Linked DNA regions of Homo sapiens: region 1 is linked to region 2. Evidence: promoter capture Hi-C in human tissues and cell types (Jung and others, 2019). All regions are on one chromosome and are shown on one strand. The core of a region is centred on a gene start or on the middle of the fragment in contact, and the rest is flanking DNA. Distances in the headings are between cores, read along the strand shown.

What was found. Contacts are between HindIII fragments. The study calls those that stand out against the background at their distance.
Region 1: the fragment with the promoter of NME1 here is called in contact with the fragment with the promoter of EPN3 in region 2 in 1 of the 25 tissues and cell types used here (heart right ventricle).

Annotation. Positions count from the first base shown.
Region 1 is chr17:51,151,359-51,154,997 of GRCh38, forward strand. NME1 (NME/NM23 nucleoside diphosphate kinase 1) reads left to right here and starts at 2,201. Exons shown (of 5, transcript NM_000269.3): 1 at 2,201-2,304. NME1-NME2 (NME1-NME2 readthrough) reads left to right here and starts at 2,201. Exons shown (of 9, transcript NR_037149.2): 1 at 2,201-2,304; 2 at 2,867-3,086. RefSeq lists enhancers at 1,514-2,713, 1,737-2,268, 2,052-2,471. The HindIII fragment of the contact is 32,954 bases long and covers 1-3,639 here.
Region 2 is chr17:50,531,287-50,534,793 of GRCh38, forward strand. It overlaps EPN3 (epsin 3), which reads left to right and starts at 1,449. Exons shown (of 10, transcript NM_017957.3): 1 at 1,449-1,699. MYCBPAP (MYCBP associated protein) reads left to right here. Exons shown (of 19, transcript NM_032133.6): 19 at 41-215. The coding sequence ends at 142. RefSeq lists enhancers at 2,315-2,991, 2,992-3,507. The HindIII fragment of the contact is 9,890 bases long and covers 1-1,894 here.

The DNA of each region.
Region 1 (3,639 bases), core at 951-3,450, 620 kb after region 2:
GGATCACCTGAGGTCAGGAGTTTGAGACCAGCCTGGCCAACATGGTGAAACCCCGTCTCTACTAAAAATACAAAAATTAGCCGGGCGTGGTGGTGCACGCCTGTAGTCCCAGCTACTCGGGAGGCTGAGGCAGGAGAATCACTTGAACGTGGGAGGCAGAGGTTGCAGTGAGCTGAGATCCGCCAAGGCACTCCAGCCTGGGTGACAGAGCAAGACTGCATCTCAATAAATAAATAAACAAATAAATAAATAAAGGCCGAGCACGGTGGCTCATGCCTGTAATCCCTGCACTTTGGTAGGCCGAGGCAGATGGAACACTTGAGGTCAGGAGTTCGATACCAGCCTGGCCAGCATAGTGAAAACCCGTCTCTACTAAAAATACAAAAATTAGGGCCAGGCGCGGTGGCTCATGCCTGTAATCTCAGCACTTTGGGAGGCTGAGGCGGGCGGATCACGAGGTCAAGAGTTTGAGACCAACCTGGCCAACATGGTGAAACCCCGTCTCTCCTAAAAATACAAAAAGTAGCCGGGTGTGGTGGTGGGCACCTGTAATCCCAGCTGCTCGGGAGGCTGGGGCAGGAGATTCGCTTGAACCCGGGAGGCGGAGGTTGCAGTGAGCCGAGATCGCACCACTGCACTCCACCCTGGGCGACCTGGCAAGGCTCCGTCTCAAAAAAAAAAAAAAAAAAAGAAAAAGAAAATACCGGGCGTGGTGGCAGACGCCTGTAGTCCCAGCTACGCGGGAAGCTGAGTCACGAGAATCGCTTGAACCCGGATGGCGGAGTTTGCAATGAACCGACATCGTGCAACTGCGCTCCGGCCTGGGCGCCAAAGCGATACTCGGTCTCAAAAAGAAAAAAAAGAAAACAGGAGAATAATGAAATTTTACTTATTTATTTTATTTATTTTTTATTTTTTTGAGACCGAGTCTCGCTCTGTCACCCAGGCTGGAGTGCCCTGGCGCAATCTCGGCTCACTGCAACCTCTGCCTCCCGGGTTCAAGCGATTCTCCTGCCTCAGCCTCCCGAGTAGCTGGGACTACAGGCGCCTGCAACCACGCCCGGCTCATTTTTGTATGTTTAGTAGAGACGGGGTTTCACTATGTTGCCCGGGCTGGTCTCGAATTCCTGAGCTCAAGTGATCCTCCCGCCGCTGCTTTCCAGCGTGCTGGGATTACAGGCGTGAGCCACCGCGCTCGGCCAAAAGTTTTAAATTTCAGTAAGTTCCAATTTATCAACTTTTTCCCTGTATAGATTGGTCTTTTGGTGTCGTCTAAAAACTATTTGCCTGGCCCTAGGTCCTGAGGATTTTTTTTAACTTTTTTTTTCCCCATAAGTGATTTATTGTTTTACATTTAAATCTATGATTCATTTTGAGTAAATTTTGTATAAGGTGAGAGGTTTAGGTTGAGGTTCTTTGGGTCTATATTCGTCCAATTGCTCCAGCATCATTTGTTGAAACGGCTCCTGATTCCATTTTTGTACCTTTCCCCCGTTCATTTCCCCTTAGAGCAGTGGGAATGTTTTTTTGTTAGTGATGATGTCATGCCTTGTGCAAAATCTGTATTAGCATCTCACAACATAAGATTTGGCTCTATTCTAACGGCATTTTCCACCACTCGATGTCCACCGTAATACTTGGCTCTCGAAGAATCACTGGGCTGGCTCCCTCACTTCATGCAGGTCTATTCTATTATCACTTACTCAGAGATTTCTCTGGCCTTTTCTTCACAGCACTTACAAAATGCGATCTATTACATATTAATTTGCTTATTTGCTTCTTGTTTTCCTATACTCCCATCCCTCCCAGAAGCTCCAAGAGAGCATACTGTTTTATCCCTAGGGCCTAGAATAATGCGTCCACGTAGTAGGTACTCAAAATTTTTTGCTTGACAGGCTAGAAAAGGTGAATAAACACAAAGCGGGAGCGAAAAGTCTACTTCTAGGTCAGGCACTCTTTGGACTTCACGCAACGTGTGAGCGCCACCTCTCGGGAAGCCAATTTGCTCGCGAACGAAGGAAGTGAGTCAGAGAACCCGGGGGTGGAGAGAAGAAAGCAAGCAGCTAACCGGAAAGGTCTGAAAAAGCTAGCGCCGGAAGTTAAACTGCAGAAAGTTGTTCCCTAGAATGACTGCCTACTCCCAAGAGGAAGCGTGGGCGAGCGGTGTTCTGCAAAATGGGCTCTCCGGCAGCGGATCTGCGCAGAAGCGTTCCGTGCGTGCAAGTGCTGCGAACCACGTGGGTCCCGGGCGCGTTTCGGGTGCTGGCGGCTGCAGCCGGAGTTCAAACCTAAGCAGCTGGAAGGGTAAGAGGTGTTCGGGATCCTGAGAGGAAAAAGAAAGGAGTGTAGTCGCGGGAGTGGGTTAGGTGAGGAGTTAGTGAAGAGATGAGTTCAGCTCTAAGAGGCGGCGAGGAGGATCGGATGGGAGGAGGGGCAGGGAGCGCCTGTGGACAAGTGCAGACCGGTCGGCGCACGTCCCACGCCACGTGGACTCGCCTTTGTCGGTGGCCGCCTTTCTCGTCAGGCCGCGACGACAGGGCTGTGCCTTATTTGTGTCTGTCGAGAGCAGTGCCGGGCACGGAGTTGGCGCTCTGTAAGTGCTTGCTGAATAAATGACGGGTGTGTGTGTCATTCATTCAGCAAGCACTGAGTGCTTACTGTTGTGTCACCGGGACCGATGTGGAGGGACATTTTTAGGGTGTATTTCTGGCGCTTTAGTCCTGTTTTCTCCTGGACAATTTATGCTTGCCCCGCACCCCATCGTGCGATTCTCCGCAGTCTTTGGGCTTTGTCTCTCTCTCTTTTTTTTTTTTTGGAAGTTGCAGAATGGTGATAAATGATTTTCTTTGCTCCTATTGACTGCTAGGCCCTGTGGCTAGGTACCATAGAGTCTCTACACAGGACTAAGTCAGCCTGGTGTGCAGGGGAGGCAGACACACAAACAGAAAATTGGACTACAGTGCTAAGATGCTGTAAGAAGAGGTTAACTAAAGGACAGGAAGATGGGGCCAAGAGATGGTGCTACTGTCTACTTTAGGGATCGTCTTTCAAGGCGAGGGGCCTCCTATCTCAAGCTGTGATACAGGGTAGGTCATGAGCGCAGTCTTCTGTAAAATGAGGGATCTGGACGGAATAGTTACTCTCTAGGCTTCCTTTCAGTATGATGTCCCGTATCAGATATTCCTAATGTCTGTAGTTCTCCCACACCCCACCGTTTATTGGCTAGTCAAAATATTCTTTGCATTGTAAAGTGTAGCATAACATTACAAGAATGGATTAATGGGTTGGGAATGCTGGGTTTTGGCCTTCATTCTGGTGCTGTGGTCCTGTTTCCTCATTTGTAAAATGAAGGGGGTTGTAAAGATATATTCTCTAAAACCCCTAATGCTATGGCTGTGGCATTAAGTCAAACTATTATTTCTTACTGCTTTGTACCGGACATCACTTTCACATTAGTAAAACTTTTCATCAGTGTAGTTTCTCCCAAGCTTGATTATTGAGAAAGATAGTGCCTTGTTTTTAACATCCTGTATCCTAGTTCCACCGCAGTGTTTGGTACACAGTAGATGTTTAAAAGAAGCTTATTAAATCAAATGGTGGCCAGGCTCATGGGGCTCACGCCTTTAATCCCAGCACTTT
Region 2 (3,507 bases), core at 199-2,698:
CAGAGTAAACTCTGCCTGTGATGTTGTCCCGTTCTTCCAGGTCCGTGGGCTGCTGGACACCCTGGTGACTGACCTGATGGTCCTGGCTGATGAGCTCAGCCCCATAAAGAATGTCGAGGAGGCTTTGCGCCTCTGCAGGTGACTCTCGGGCCCAAGCAACCTTCTGGAAAACGGGTTAATAAATAAATCAATAAAGAACCTTCAAGTTTCTACTACTTCCGTGTGCCTCTGTGTCTTGCATGATGGATCTTGGCTAGGTCAGCTCCTGATCCAGGTCCTCCCATGTTCCACCTGCCCTCAGATCCCCTCCTGCCAGCTGCCAGAGCCCTCCTGCAGGAGGACAGACAGACATAGCTGGGGAAGTGATGTGTGGGATGCCAAGCAGAGGAGCAGATTGGTAGCAAGACAAGGAGTCAGGTGACAGGACAGTGTGTCACCTCTGGTAGTCCCTGCCTCTGGCTTCCTTGGCCCACACTTTCAGGGTCGTGCTTCCTGGAGCCAGGTCTTCCCGAAGTGTCATCACCAAGTATGACAAAGTGTGAGATGAGGAGTAGAACTAGACCCATGGGACCTGGCTCCCTGCCATCTCCCCTCTTCAGCTGGGTCCCAGGGCCCCAATTCAGTCCCTGAAGATCATGCTCACCACACCTCTTCAGCTCTAGAGGCCACATCACCTTGTTATTTCGGGGTCTAGTCTGCCTTATCCCCCTCCTCATCTCAAACTATCTGGCCTTGAGCCATCTTTCTGCCTTAAAAACAGCTGCTGATCTTCATGCTACCTCCCTTGCTCAGGGGAACATGAAACAGGCTAGAAATGGCTCTCAGAAAAAAAGGTATTGTCAGCTCAAACTCAGGCCCCTCATTGTCTTCTGTCAGTCATAACCATTTGGGGCTGGGCTCCCTGTGTGAAGAGCACTCCAGGCTCCCAGAGTTTGAAGAACAACTTTGGTTTTTGGGTGGGTGGGCATCCTTAAGTGGGCCTCAGGCATCCTCCAGCTGAGATGCAGGAGGGGGAGGATGGACAGAAGGATCTGACTCCGTGTGGGAAAGGCAGGGAGGGGGCTGTGCTGGAGTCCTGATGCTCTCCTCCCCAAGAAGACGAGAAGACGGGGGCTCCACCAAAGAGCCAGCCCCAGGGAATGTCCCTGCCCTCTCCTTTAATGTCCTCCCGGCCCAGAGGAGGAAGGGGAGGGGTGTGGTGGGGGTGTTGGAGCCCCCCTCCTTTCCTGTTGAAGAGGCAGGGGAAGGGTTAACTCAAAGCAGAGGGGATCAGGTCGCCAGCACTGGCTCCAGATGTGCACTTCCTGGGGGCGGCCAACAGGCAGGCCCCCCACCTCTCAATGCACCACTTGCCTGGCCAGCAGGAAGGGGTTAACCTGCCCTGCACTTCCTCCTGTGTCCTGTTACTGCTGAGGCAGACCTGCCGGGCCAGCTGAGCAACTTTCCTCGGAGTGCTGCCTGGCGCTGGCTAGGAGGCAAACGCACGCGGGAAGAGCTGCTACCCATTCCAGGGACCCTGCCGCTGCCCCTCTGAGGGGTCTGCACCTCCTGGGAGCAGGTGGGTCTCTGGGACGAGGGTCCATGGTGGATGGCTCTGGAGACGCTCCCGAGGCTGTGCCGTCCCGCTGCTGCACAGGTCGGAGGGTCACCGCAGAGGCTACTCGGGCTGGGGCTGGGGCCGAGGGAGCCCGCACTGGAGGTAAGCTTCCTCCCTGGCCCCCTCCCTGGCAGTGGCGGCATGGAAGGCGGGGGTTGGTGGGGAGCAAACAGTGGTTCTGGGGCTTAGTCTCTTTTCCAGGTGCGAGGGAGAAGGCTGAGCTGTAGAGGACCTAAAGGCTTCTTTCCTGCCACCCCTCCCTCCCTGCCGCCCCCAAAAAGGGACTCAGGGCCCCCTCCCCAACCATCCTGGGACTTAGCATCTTTGGTGGCATCTTAGCATCTTTGGTGGCATTCCCCACAGACTCCTTCTGCACATCTCTGCTGTTTCCTCTTCTTCAGCCCCTCATGCACACCTCTAGCCTCAGGGCAGTCCCCCCTCCCCCATCTTCTGTGCTCCCGGGATGCAGCTATTACAGTGGCCAGAAGCTTAGAGTTCAAGCTCACCCCCTGTCCCTTACAGCATCAAGAAGGGCACTGTCATTCCCCACTGCTCAGGCTGGATCTGACTTGGAGGCAGGGGCTGGAGCCCACCTTAGCAGAGGACGGGAAGAGGGTGTGGGCTGGGCTGGTGGGTGCACAGACTTTACGCAAACTCATGCACGTGTGACTGGACAGATCTGGGTTCTCTCCATCTCTCCGAAACCCTTGCTGGGGATGAGCGATCTGCATTTTTCGGTCCTGACTTTTGGGAAACTCTCCAGATCCCCCCATCCTGCAGGCCCTGAGAAGAGCAGCCCCTCCCTACTGCGCAGTTCTCCTTGGGACCCTGTATGCAGGAGAGAGCTGATACTCCGTGCCCCGTGGCCCATCCCACCGCCTGCTGGCCCTGCTCCCATCCCCTCAGCTTCCTCCCTCCTCTGCCCTCTCGTCATCTCTGAATTCTCAGGCCCTGCCCTCTCTGTGCCCTTCCCTCCACCTGACAGGGTCTGGCTCAAGGTCACTGCAGTAATTCCATACCCAGCTGCCCAGGGCTGCTGCTGCTACCGCCACCGCCTTATCGGCCGCTGGGTTTCTGTTACACTCCCTTTTATTTCTGGGCATATCGTGTTCGATAAAACCCTTTGCTTGTAACACTGCTGGCAGCGCTCCCAGCTGCTCCCTCCCGCGTTCCCGCGTTCCTTCCTTTCCTCCTCCCTTCTCTGCGCTTGGGCAGGCTTCTTCCTTTCCTCCTCCCTTCTCTGCGCTTGGGCAGGCTTCTTCCTTTCCTCCTCCCTTCTCTGTGCTTGGGCAGCCTCACCTTGTCCCCTCAAACTCCAGAGAAGGAAAATCAAGGTGCCTCCCCATGTTTCTGGCCCCGCCCTTCCCCCCAGCCCCTGCAGGGGTGTGCAGAGAATGCCCACCTTCTGTGAGAAAGGTCCAGGCAGGGCCGCTGGGCCCACACCGAGAGTCCCCTCCCAGAGGCTGGTGCCCCCACACAGGCCAGGCCGGAGGGCCAGGGCAGCCAGGTCCAGGTAGGGCTCTGGTGCAGTCACAGTGCCCGACTGGTTCTGCTAGTTCCAGCGGCCAGCCGGTAGGGGCGTGTGCTGGGCGGGCTTTGGTGCACATTATTTCCCATCTTGACTCTGCCACCCCCAGCCACGGGTTGGGGAGGTGAAGGCAGGTCTGAGTCACTAGCAAGGGGGAGGGCAGGAGTTAAACAAGTTGTGGCCGTGGCATTCCCACAGAAGGCCCACGACCCGCTGGAAGGAAAGAGATAGCAGACAAAAGGTAGGCTGCGCTGTGGGCCAGGCACTCTCCACCTCGCCCACTCCCACGGTATCTTATTCTCTGGGCCCCCAACAAAACCTGCCAAGGCATGTTTTCAAAGCGTGGGGCTGCTTTGAACTGAGCCCAGCACTGGCGGGGCTG